Regions from separate parts of the Homo sapiens genome. Here all the other regions are linked to region 1. Evidence: promoter capture Hi-C in 16 types of primary human blood cells and fetal thymus (Javierre and others, 2016). All regions are on one chromosome and are shown on one strand. Each heading gives the region's core, a stretch centred on a gene start or on the middle of the fragment in contact. The rest is flanking DNA. Distances are from core to core; before and after follow the strand shown.

Evidence for each region. Contacts are between HindIII fragments. The CHiCAGO score rates a contact against its expected background, and 5 or more counts as called.
Region 2: a contact is called between a fragment that was not itself captured here and the fragment with the promoter of NFKB1 in region 1, in 1 of 17 cell types (naive CD8 T cells). The highest score is 5.4, in naive CD8 T cells.
Region 3: a fragment that was not itself captured here is called in contact with the fragment with the promoter of NFKB1 in region 1 in 1 of 17 cell types (M0 macrophages); the score reaches 7.4 in M0 macrophages.

Annotation. Positions count from the first base shown.
Region 1 is chr4:102,498,833-102,503,197 of GRCh38, reverse strand. NFKB1 (nuclear factor kappa B subunit 1) reads right to left here and starts at 1,839. Exons shown (of 24, transcript NM_003998.4): 1 at 1,410-1,839. NFKB1-AS1 (NFKB1 antisense RNA 1) reads left to right here and starts at 712. Exons shown (of 5, transcript NR_136202.1): 1 at 712-759. RefSeq lists an enhancer at 1,160-1,209 and silencers at 1,320-1,889, 1,900-2,159. The HindIII fragment of the contact is 5,238 bases long and covers 1-2,780 here.
Region 2 is chr4:101,340,966-101,345,087 of GRCh38, reverse strand. All of the region lies in intron 1 of PPP3CA (protein phosphatase 3 catalytic subunit alpha), which reads left to right. Among named protein-coding and RNA genes, the nearest start is that of PPP3CA, 4.5 kb to the left of the region's middle. The HindIII fragment of the contact is 3,623 bases long and covers 215-3,837 here.
Region 3 is chr4:101,281,673-101,285,785 of GRCh38, reverse strand. The region is part of intron 1 of PPP3CA (protein phosphatase 3 catalytic subunit alpha); the gene reads left to right. Among named protein-coding and RNA genes, the nearest start is that of MIR8066, 43 kb to the right of the region's middle. The HindIII fragment of the contact is 1,663 bases long and covers 1,416-3,078 here.

The sequences.
Region 1 (4,365 bases), core at 590-3,089:
ATCTTTTTATTTCCTGTCTTCCCAAGTTTATAAACTCAAAAAAGTACATTGCTTCAAATTTAAATACATACATTTAAATACATAATTCCTATAGTGCCTCAAACAGTAAAAGGATTCATCTCTAGAAAGCACAATATTAAAATCAGAAAAACAACATACTTTAGTTTTAAGTTTCCCTTTTAAAGTTTTAACAAACACGAATGCAGTTTAAACTGCTTGACAATATTCAGTTGTGGGATTCTGCTAGAAAAAAATTATTGAATATCTTGACCCTAACCTTTACTATTTACTAAAAGATCACCAGTATGTAGAATATTTTGATGCCAGAGCTATTAAATGTTTTAGTAATACCATAAGCATTTTTTCAGATTATGAGCTTTATAAAAAAATCTTTGAGTTAAATATGGTTATTTCATAAACTGTAATGCTGAAAACCTCTACTTAACAAAGTCCATGAACATGTCAATCTTGATAATTAAATCCTGTATCATTAAGTCCCATTTGAGTTTCAGGATAAACCAGCAAGTCAGGGCAAACATTCCCTGGTGTCTGTTTTTAAGGACCATAGAAAAACTTGCATTTAGGATAGGCCTTGTTTTTACATTATTTTTGTTTCAGCGGTCATGCATAATGCATGGTGGCACTGTCCAAGAGTTTTACATAATCAAGTCTAAAAAGTGCTCTAAGTATCCAGGTAGGTAATTTATTTTCTCTCTCAAATGCCAGGCCCCGGAGGATCAGAATCAAGTCCTATAGCAGGTGACTATATCGTGTGTGTGTGTGTGTGTGTGTGTGTGTGTGTGTGTGCGCGCGCGCGCGCGCACGGAGGGGGGGAGGGGGGAGAGAGAGAGAGACAGAGAGCGAGCCAGGTTTCTTTTAGAAGTAGGAGAGGGATGAATAGACTCTCCTATTCAATTCTGGGGAGCTGGGGAGGGCTTTCCCAGCCAAGAGGACTGACAAGCACTTCTGCTTTCATTTCATGGAACGCCCTTAGGTGAAATCTGGTTCTGCACTGCACCAACCACCTTCCCTCTCTCCTCCGCGCCGCAGCGCACTCCAACCTTCTCACCATCCCCCAGGTGGGGCTGGGGTTGGGGATTTTAAAAGTTTGTAAGAGTTCCCCTCCGGTTCGCGTTCCCGCCCCGCGGAGGGACGTGAAGAGAAATGACCGCCGGGCGGCCGCGGCCCTTCGGCCGACTAGCCCCTGCGAGGTCCGGATGTGTCTTTCCCCGCTGTCGCTAATCCCATGTGCCTCTCAGCTACTGTCAACCTCCTCCCACGGTCTAGCCCAGCGGTTAGCGCAGGAATGAGGAAGTCCGAGTGGGGCTGGAGGGGGTGCGGAGGGCTGGGCGGCAGGACTTGGGCCACGCGTCCCCTGCCGGGCCCCCACTCGCCCGAGTTTGGCTTACCCGGGTGGCGAGTCCGCGTTCGGCCTCCTGGCGCGGGTGGGCTCTCCCTCCTAAGCGGCGCGGGCCTGCCGGCTGGAGAAGGAAGAGGCGGCGGCAGGCCGGAGCCCGGGCGGGCCCGAGTGCGGGTCGGGGCGAGCGGGAGCGCGGCGGGGCCGGGCCAGGCCAGTCAGCGCCGCGCCATGGCCGCAGCGCGGGCGGAGGGAAGCGCAGGGCGCGCGGTGGCCGGGCGGCGGCGCCGCCTTACTGGCCGGGCGGCTGCGGCCTCGGCGGCGCTGGGCTCCGGGAGCGGGGCCGGTGGCTGCGTGCAGGCCGAGGGCTGCGGCGGCTGGCGGCCCGACCGACGGGAAGGGCAGGGGAAGCTGTCAGCGCGTCGCCGGGCCGCTCCGGTGGCGAAACCTCCTCTTCCTGCCCCGGCTCGCTGGTGCACTTCTCTCTCTTTCTGTCTCGCTCACTCTCTCACTTCCTGGCTGGAAATTCCCACTGACGTCGAGAGAGCATACAGACAGACGGACACACGCGCGCACGCAGCGGGGGCGGGAGGTAGGGTCGCTGCCGGGGGTGGGGGAAGCCCGCACTTCTAGGGGCGCTGTGCGCCCCCGGCCCGGCCTTGCCGCTCGCCTCGGCTCCCGCCCCTCGGGGCCGCTTCGGGGCGCCGGGCGAGGGGCGCGCGTTAGGCGGCCTGGACGCCGCGGCCCCTGCGGGGCTCTGGCTTCCTAGCAGGGCGCTCCCGAATCCCAAGGGCTGGAGCCGGTAGGGAAGCCCCCAGGAAGCGCCTGCCGGGCCCAATCAATGGTCGGGGAACGCAGGCAGCACGGAGGCGGCGGCGGTGGCAGTGCCGCTGATAGAGTCATGCGGTCCATAGCCCCTAAGGGCAGGCCCGAGCAGCTGGAGGGTCGGCATGGATCCAAGCATGCCAGATATAAAAATAAAGCTCATCTGTATATTCCATTTAAGCGTGTCTCAGTTACATTCACATCTCTTCACAGATTAAACTACAATTTCGTTATCATAAACGACTTGTGCCCAGTAAAGTATAACCCTCTACTGGTTTTTGGTGCGGTCTTAAATCTCCTGGTTATAGAGCAGTTACTCAGAATGTTCATCTACAAGGCATTGTTAGGCCTTTATGATAATTACTGTGGATAGAATTATAGTGATGGTGGTAGCAATGGTTTTGGTTCACAGCTCATAAAATACTGATCTGGCAGAGGGGAGTTTTCTTTTTCTCTGAAGAGACCGCTACTGGCACCCACTGACAGGCCTCCCAGTGGCCACCATTCACTGGCATCTGAGCTGCTTTAGTGCTGGGCACTGTATTAGGTACAGGCTGGGGATACCTTCGGGTGGATTACCTCCCCACATAAGAAAGCTTGAGCCGAAATATATATTTTAGAGCTCATTGTTTCACTACTGGGTGGAGTGACAACTGAAAGCTTAGCTTTAAAACATCAGTAATCAGGTCCTCACCAGGCAATATTGCAGTGGCATTTAGATTGCTTATGGCATGTTCATCCTAGTCCTTTCGTGCCCACTCTCCATCCTCCTCCTCCAGTAGGTTATAAAAACCTTCTTGGTGGAGTGTTTTTCTGGAAAAAAAAAATAAACAAAAAAAACCCACACACACAAAAACCCAGCGATCCATTTGATTGCCTATGAGGTGAGTCTCCGAGGCGACCTTGGAGGCCCCAACAGTCGACCTTTAAGTGATCTCATTTAGCTCCGGGAGGCTGAGCAGCTGGAATTTAGAGGATCCATAAAGACTGAACACAATGACTTTTTAAGAAATTCTGTGAGCCGGGTGCGGTGGCTCACACCTGTAATCCCAGCACTTTGGGAGGCCAAGGCGGGTGGATCCCCTGAGGTCAGGAGTTTGAGACCAGCCTGACCAATATGGTGAAACCCCATCTCTACTAACAATACAAAAAAATTAGCCGGGCGTGGTGGCGGGCGCCTGTAATCCCAGCTACTCCAGAGGCTGAGGCAGGAGAATCGCTTGAACCCTGGAGGCAGAGGTTGCAGTGAGCCAAGATTGCGCCACTGCACTCCAGCCTGGGCGAGACAGAGCGATACTCTGAGAAAGAAAGAAAGAGAGAGGGAGGGAGAGAGGGAGGGAGGGAGGGAGGTGTGAGCATACACACTCTACTTTTCATTCTGCAAGGGGTGGCAGCCCCATTACCAAAAGATAGATAAATACAATTGTTATAAGAGTAGAGCCAGTGTGACATATTTGGGAGTAAAAAATGAAGAGCGTTAATTACTGAAAAGGATTAAATCAAACTCCAAACTCAAAATGATTCCATAAAATGAACTTAAAATTCAGGGTAGGGTGTTGAGCAGGCATATTTTCCTGGGGCTGCTGTAAAAATTTACCACCGACTGAACAGCTTACAACGGGAATTTATTCTGTCACAGTCCTGGAGCCTAAAATTCTGAACTCAAGGTGCCATTAAGGCCATGATCCCTCTGAAGGCTCTAGGGAAGAATCCTTTGCCTCCTCCTAGCTTCTGGTAGCTCCAGCAATCCTTGCCATTCTTGGCTTGGCTGCAACACTCCATTCTGTGCCTACATTGTCACATGGTCTCCTTCCCCGTGTTTCCTTTGTGTCGCTATATTCAACTCTCCCTCACCTTTCTTTTATGAAGACACCAGTCATTGGATTTAGAGCCCACCCCAATCCAGTATTACCTCATCTTAACTTGATAACATTTGCAAAGATCCTAGTTCCAAATAAACTCATGTTCACAGGTACCTGTGGTTAGGACTTGAACATATGTTTTGGGGGGATGTAATTCCATGCAGCACAGCAGGCAAAACTATAAAAGCTTTTTGGCTTGCTGATTAACCCTCCTCCATTCCTGCTTTGTTACCCAACATTTTCTCTACACTGTACAAACCTGCTTCCAGGAATATCTCTTACAAATTCATCCATCCTAAGGTGTCAGAAGGTATTTGCCAT
Region 2 (4,122 bases), core at 777-3,276, 1.2 Mb after region 1:
ACAGCTATTTTATTTTTCCTGCAGGCATGGATTTTCATGGAAACAGTCCATTCACATTTATTTGAGAGAGCTGTGTTTTGCATGAAAGGCTTCTGTTGACATTTTCAAAAATTGAGACCCTTTGCAGAAATATCAGAGAATGACAATTATCTCCTTAATGTGTGAAGTTTAGATGTAGCTCCAATCTAGGTTAAGATCAAAACAATGTAAAGCTTATAATTCAAATGATACTAGTGAACGTGTTGGCAATTAAAAAAACACTTGTGCACACATAAGGTCACATTCCCTGTTTTAAATCATAGGATGTGGATTCTTAATGTAGGTGTAAAGTCATCAGGTGAACATGTAAAAATAAATGTTTATACTTTCTGGCTTAGTTTCTCTACTGCTTAAAATGGAAGAGCCCACTCAACCATTCCAAGGCTACTTTGCCTTGCTTTTTTTCAATACTGTACCATTATAAATGACTTTTCATTTTAGGTACACACACTCACCCATAATTTAAAAAATTTTATTCACATACTATGTGGATAGTAGACTCAAAATAGGAAAAGTTAATTTTGCATTTGTTTTGATAGAGATCCTGATGTGAGATGTGAAATGTGAAATTTTGTTTATAGAAGTTTTGTTGATGAATCCTGATTTTAAGGTGGATACACTGTTATTGTTTATCCTGTTTTCTTGTAGAATATTATTGGCATGAAAGGCATTATACAAGGTTGGATTCAACCTTTTGTCATACATAAGATTTTTATTATTAGTTATTTGAGATAATCTATTTTGATTATTAGCTTTCTGTGAAATAATATTTCCCCTTGAGTATGTATACACGTACTGAATGAATGGAAAGTACGCGTATGCTGGATGTGAAACATATTAACAAGTGATTTAATTTGCAAAAATTAGATAATATGGAGTTTAGAAACCATTATTTACTTGAAATTTTGTTAGAACTTCATCTCAATGGCTATTTAACTCATTCTTTAATACAGAAAAGAAATTATCTTTGAGGAAGTATTTGTGCTCCATAAGTTTTCTCTTTTTTACGAAGTATGTGTAGTATTATTTACTATATATACATACAAAAATAAATATTCAGATTGTTATTACCATGGCATGCCATGGCATTTGCTTACAGTTATATTTATTAGTGTCATCTGGCTTTTGTTGTATAAGAAATTGCTATTTACAAATAAAGATGTGCTTGTGGTTTGTAGTAATATGATGTGACTGTTTTCTTAATTGTACTTTTAGAATGCAGCTTTAGAGACGTAGGTTGAGTCTGTCTCAACTATGTTATTTTTGAGGTTTATAGAATCTGCTAGCATGTATTCAGAGACCCTGATCGGTTTTCTAAACCTTAAAAATGAAAGAGAATGATGGCAGTGGAGATGAAAAGTATTTGTTTAGATTATCCCAGGAGAGAAAGTTACTTCAGTTAGCAAAACTAGTGCTGTATCATTTTGACTCTTCTTGGATTAAAACAATGGAAAGTAGAAAAATTCAGAGAAAACATCTTGGTAATGACCTTTGCTGGAAATCAAAATAATATGGTCCGTTTATTGCTTTACATTATATTTTTAAAGATACATACAGCAAACCGAGGGCAATAAATAGAAGAATAACTGTCTTCCTCCCCTTGACCCCCGTCCTGATTTTTCTCTTAGTGATACTCTACAGGCCTTGTCTCAAACTTTGGCTTTTCTTCATTTCTCTCTGTTCCTGCCTAGAATGCTTTGTCTGGCCCTAGCATTCCCTATTGGTCATGGAACTTTGCTATGTGATAGTTAAAAATACTTAGAGGAAATTAAACCCTATGTGATAATGAGTATTTGGCTTTGTTAAATCTCTTAACCTACCTTCCCTCTGTTCCCATCTCCAAGTATTTTGTGATGGGACTTCTACCTTAACTCAAACCGATGGTAATGGTAGAAATTTTAGAAACTATGGGAGGCTGTTGAGGGATAAATTTCTGAGAAGAGTTTTGTGGAATCTCTCAGAAACTATAGATAATGCGTTGTTGTGCTTTGTGTAAGGTTGCTTTTGGCCATAGAGAATGAGCTGTTTTTCAGGTGTATTGCCAGCTTACGTACTTCATGTAGACAGAGTACACATAGGAGAATTCTGAAAGATGCTAAGATCATAGAAGCAAGAAGATGCTAGTTAAGTATTATTAAGTAAATAAGGATTCCAGCCACTAGTATTTCTAGCTGGGTGAGACTGATAATACTACTTAAAAAGAAAACAAATATGTCACATTCGTAGTAACTGTCGTGTTTAGACCTTGATGCAACAGAGTAGTAAATAATGTCATTTATTTGTGGTGTTCCAGGAAGAGCTTGTGAATTTATTTTACTGACATTTTGTTACCATCAGTTGAGTTTCATGTATCTGGTTTTCAATTTGAGTATAGTGAAACTTTATTAATTCAATATCATGAATTTAAATTTATTGTGAAAAAACACCAGTGTTTGTTGGCTGAAGTTTACATCAGCATTGGATGTGAAGAAAGGGGTCCGATAACCAAAAAGTATAAACAACATAGTTCCAGCATTGTTAATATACCAAGAGAACAAATTCTTTTCAATACTTAGTGAACAGTATGCAAATTCATCCTGTTCGTTACGAGTTAGGTTGGTCTATTTATTAACATTTCCTTTTGGGACTATTATAAAGTGAATATAACACAAGTGCATTGTTGTAAAAACATTCAGTAAATTTAATGATTAATGCAACAATTGAGACTGGGATTCAGGGGAATTCCAGTGATTCTAAAATGCCATCAATTAGAATAATCAACATTTTGAAGATAATAGTTTTTCTGAGAAGTGTGGGATAGAACCCTTATTTTAAATGGACAGTTTATCTTAAGACATCCAGTTAAAATAGGAAAAAATTAACATCTAGAATCTAATTAATGAGGTTTACTCTAAGATTTGTTTAAAAATATGCCTTTTAAAATCTATTTGTCTCTTTGTTTTATTTGTAATTTTAGCGAGATGAAATATAATTTTGATAGACCATTCATTTATAACTTTTGTAATTGGCCTCTCATGCTTTTCCTTATCTTTTTTTGTGTCAGCTATGTGTAAATTTGAAACTAATTATGACACCAAATAAAGAATCCATTTAGGGTGACCTCATTGGAAAACAGCATTTTTGCAGATACTCACTCTCCTTTTAGCAAATATGGTTAAATTACCATTTTGAATACTTCTAGAACTATGAAGAATGGTGGTGATTCATGATATAGAATTTTGATAATTACTAAAAATCATTTTGTCAATTTTTTTCCAGCAACTTTCTGATGTAGCAGTCTCTTGATATACAAGAGGGATATGGTGAGACCTTGAACTTCAGCTTTCTGTAATTCCACTGGTATATGTTATAACTTCACAGGCTAACTTTCTCTATACATAAAAGGGGAGTAATTGTATCCACTGTCAACTTGTGAGGACCGAAGGATAATCAAATGGGAAATGGGGAGTGTGTGGTTAACACTTTGTCCACTGCCTGGTAATGGCGATTCAGTCACTGCTAACACAGAATTAGAAATGACACGTGTTATGTATTTTCTGGTCACCTGAGAATAGTCAGAACCATTAGCATTGAAAGCCATGAGTGCCTTGGGTCAAGAGTAGCTTATGATGACATTTATTTTTATAGTTAAAGAAGTGGAGACAGAATAGATAGAATGGTTACAGGTAAGTGTAAACACATTATTTTCTTTATTAAAGAGGCTTTTCTTGCTTGAAAACATTTTTGAAAATTGCCACTGGCCAGGTGTGGTGGCTCACACCTATAATCCTAGCACTTTGGGATGCTGAGGTGGAAGCTTGGGCAACATAGCAAGACCATATCTCTTAAAAAAAAAAAAAAGAAAAAGAAAAAAAGAAAATGGCCACTTCTTTTGGTATATTTAAGATATCTTCACATTTCATTTCGCATTTTGTTTTACTAAATAATTAACTATGTAAAATAGTTTGATTAGGAGAGGAAGCTTTTTATATTTCTGTTTTTAGCAGACATCAAATTCTGGTGATAAATATTATAATTTAGTCTGACCTTGGCCTGAGGTTTATAAAGAAATACTGTTAAACATTGCTTTCTGTTCAGGTAAAT
Region 3 (4,113 bases), core at 998-3,497, 1.2 Mb after region 1:
GGCATGATTCATAGCAGCTTGCATTGATAAGTTCAAGAACTCCCCTTGTTGACTTTGTGGGTCGTGCTTGACCATCTTGGGAGAGGTGTTTCCCTGAGATAGGAGTAGCCAACATCGATATGTATTAGAAAACACACACACACACACACACACACACACACACACACACACACACACACACACACATACACACAGTGGCATTTGAAAGGGAAGGGAAAGGAATTAGTATCAATTAATTCTTTGAAATGTATCTCTTTGTTTCAGATGATGTGGGACACCGGCTTGTGCAATGTGATATAAGAAGGGGGAACTCTTTAAGCCGTACAAAAACATGTATCAAGTGATTTGATATGTACAGGGGTTATAAATCTTGTATTCCATTTATTTACAGATTAGTGATATTAGATGTAAATCTATTTAGCAGGGAAAGTATAAGCAATTTATCTTTAATGGAAGGGATGGTTGGGAGGCCATAATCTCCTCTTCTACTACTTGATAAGATATGATTAAAGGAAAGCAAGTTAAGGATAATAATTATTTAAACATAATCCTTTATGTCAAAATTAATATTGCATGAATTTTGAATTCTATATTTACCTGAAAGAAACCTGTAAAATCTCGGTGCTGTGTGGACGTTACAGATTTTAGTGCATTGAGGTGTGAGACAGTGAGTACAGATAGAGGGAGACAAGATAGAGAATCCTTGTCTCCCATCAGTATTTGGGTTTGTGTTTGTGTGGTTTTCTTGCTGTTGTTAGAAACAATACGTTTCTTAAGAAGATGCCAAAAGAACTTGCTTTAGCAAGTTGACATCTATTGATGAATAAGTATGACATTTTAATCCCCATATTTTAAATGATGTTTGGTTACTATTTGTTTAAAAGCAACTGAATAAAAACATCTTCAGCTATCCAGATTCCAATCTGTACAGATGACTAATCATGTGGAATATTTGAACATAAAGGTTCTAGTGAAAAATAAAAATTAAAACAAAAAATGTAGTTGCTCCCAGATTTGAAAGTACAGAATGTTTTCTGTGCCTTTTAGATATGGGTAACTATGACATTGAAAACAATGGTAACCACGGGAAATGCACCTTACAAAATAAATAAGGGGAAAAAAAAAAGACATGGGGGTGGGGAGTAGGAAGGAGTTGGTGTAGTAACAGCTTAGTGAGTAAATAAATATTTAAACTTCATGCTTTGTTACTTGTGTAATCATGAGATTTGCAGAATTATGTTTTATATTACATTTTTAGTTGGTATCTTTTTTATCTTGTGTTAAATAATCTGTTAAGCCAAATTTAAGTACTGTTCAGAAACAAAAGCAAGTTACAAGCTTTGTGGGTGTTAATGTCTTCATGTGTAAAAAACCAGAAAATTGAATTAGATATATCCTAAGGTTTTTTCCAAGCTTTTAAATTCCATGATTCTGTGACCCAGGAGGTGTCCAGGAGTCATGTGAGTAAACTTTTAAGTTTTGAAGTAACGTTAACTCCAAGACTTGAAACCCTTGAAATTGGCTAGAAATCCTATACAAGATTTCCAGAAAGTTACCGTTATACTTCCTGATTACGCTTATGGATACAAATATAAAGCAAACAATAACCAAAGACACATAAAACAAACCCTGATTCTAGCAGTTTACGAAAAGAGGAAATTTATTAGAAGGTTCTGGGGGATCATTGTCCAGTAGAACTTTCTGTGATGAGGAAAATGTTTAGAGAATCTGAGCTATCCAGCATGGTAGTCAATAGTCATATGTGACTATTTAGCACTTGAAATATGTCTAGTTCAACTACAAGACTCGATTTTACATTTTATTTAGTTTTAATTAATTTAAATGTAAACTTTTAAGATTTAAAGGAATCCTGGGAGTAACCGAAACGTCGGTCTTGAGAAGAATAGGAAGAAACCAGGGTGGCCTTAGGAACTAAGAACTGCTTTGGAAGCAGTAGTGGTGTGTTCTTCAGAGTCATACCATGACTTAGTTATTAGTGGTACCCAACCTGGATTTATCAGATAACAATGGCATCTTCCAGGGAGAGAAAATCTGATTGTCTTTACATGAGTTTGGTGTCTACCCTCCAAATCAATCAACTGTAGGTTGGGTTGCAGAATGATTGCGTACCTGCCAGAGTGCTGACAGTTCCCAGGGAAGGAGGAAGTGGAGCCAGGCAGCAGTCTTAAGAGCGGTTTGCCACATTACTTAAGAGAAATATGTTTTTCCCTGCAAGCACTGATTTTTCTAACTTTAAAATACTCTTATTTTGTTAATTTACTTGTATTGCACCTGACTTATTTACCTTTTTTATTGCTAATTAAAAATACCACTCTATGTTGAGTAAACTTTTACTAACCTGAGAGACTAATGATTTATAACATTGTGTAGAAGGAAATCAAAGAACATTATAGCCAAAAGCAACAATATGAGCCATGCTAGACAATGCTCTCTTGTTACAGAGAGTATTGATACCAAGGCTTAGATGTTTTGCTATTTCAAGTCACGAAATTATTTGCCACATTAGGGATAGATACTTGCTTTAATCTGAACCTATGTTGTTGACCAGCTACATGTTAAAACCAAGTGTTTGAAAACCATCTTTTTGAAATTTGACGCTTTCCCGTAAATTTTTATTTTCCTGTAAAGTGGTAATACTAATAATTTGTGAGAAAACTGAGTAGTGCAGGTTTTGATTTTGAAGGGTTTTTTGTTTTGTTTTACATTTTTAAAACATGAAGAAAGAGCTTTGATTGAGAATGTGTTAATTGTATTATGTGAACCTATAAAATTAACTCTTATTATTTAATACATATGAACCAAATAATACTTGACCCAGATAAGTGAAGGATAGATAGAAAAGAAAGGCATTTACTTAAAATGGCTGCTTATTTTATCAAAGTTAGATTTCAAATTAGAGTTGGATGAGCTGTTTTAAAAGTCCATGCTAAATATGTTGGGGACTGCCCCGGAAACAGGTTTTCCTCCTCTGTGTAAATCAGCCATGTTTCTGTGGTGCGAGGTGGGTGGGAGCCTTGCTTTACTTCCTGCATCTCAGCAGGCTCAGGAAGGGAAGCTTGCTAGGGTGTTTAAGCAGCCACATGCATTATGTTAAATTAATTCTACCCCAGTCTTTGGACATCTATTGACAATAGTATTATTTGGGTTGCAAAATCAACAAGTGAATAGACCAAAGAAGAAATGGGGAAGAACCCAGAATGAGTGTGAGTCAAACACTACCTTGACACAGGAAGCCAGGACTAGAAGCCCTGAGATCAGTCCAATCCAGGGAATATGCTGACTGCGCTGTCATTTAGAACAGGCCAGTGGAATTCAGGACCTATCAGGTAAGTCCATGTCTTACCAACTTAAAGCAATCTTCTGGGAAGAGGTCTGGACCTGTATCTAACATGAATTGTAGTGAGGTCTGTCCATCACATTTCACTCATCTAATCACCTTTGTCATTCTTCTGGTTTTCACAGATAGGATAGAAAAACTGTAGTTTTTTTCTGTTGCCACTTAGCTCTTGGTTGCAGGGGCCTCTAGGTAGGTGTGAAGTGGTTATCAAGGCTTTGACTGTCAAAAACACTTCTACTCAAAATTGGCCTTAGCAGTTAAGCCAGATTTAAAATGATTTTGGTAGTGGATTATCTAAGCTCATATAGAATAACTGCAAGTCACTTTCAAACTTGCCATAGATGCGAAGATAATATATTCTCATTTTCTGGACTAGCTTTTCCCAGGAAAAGGTATGGGGTGGAGGGATATCAAATATCAATTTTTGTAGATATGGAAAGCTCCATGAATGTGTATTTATAGGCCCCCTGAGGTCTAACTGAATGTATGTTGAATGCAGATTCTTCTGTTTTCCTCCCCAGGTTTGTCATTTGGCAACTAGTACAGGAAAAAGACCCTCAATAACTAGCAAGTCTGTCTTTGTTATATGTAGACAAGCATTTTGATTAATTTAGGGAGGATGCTTTTTTCACTATATAAAATTAAAATGAAATTATGGAAGAACCTAGTTTGTTTTCTTACTTGAGTTGAATGCTGTTTAACCACTTTCTTATTACATTCGATTGACTTAGTTGAGTTGGATGCTGAATGTTTAA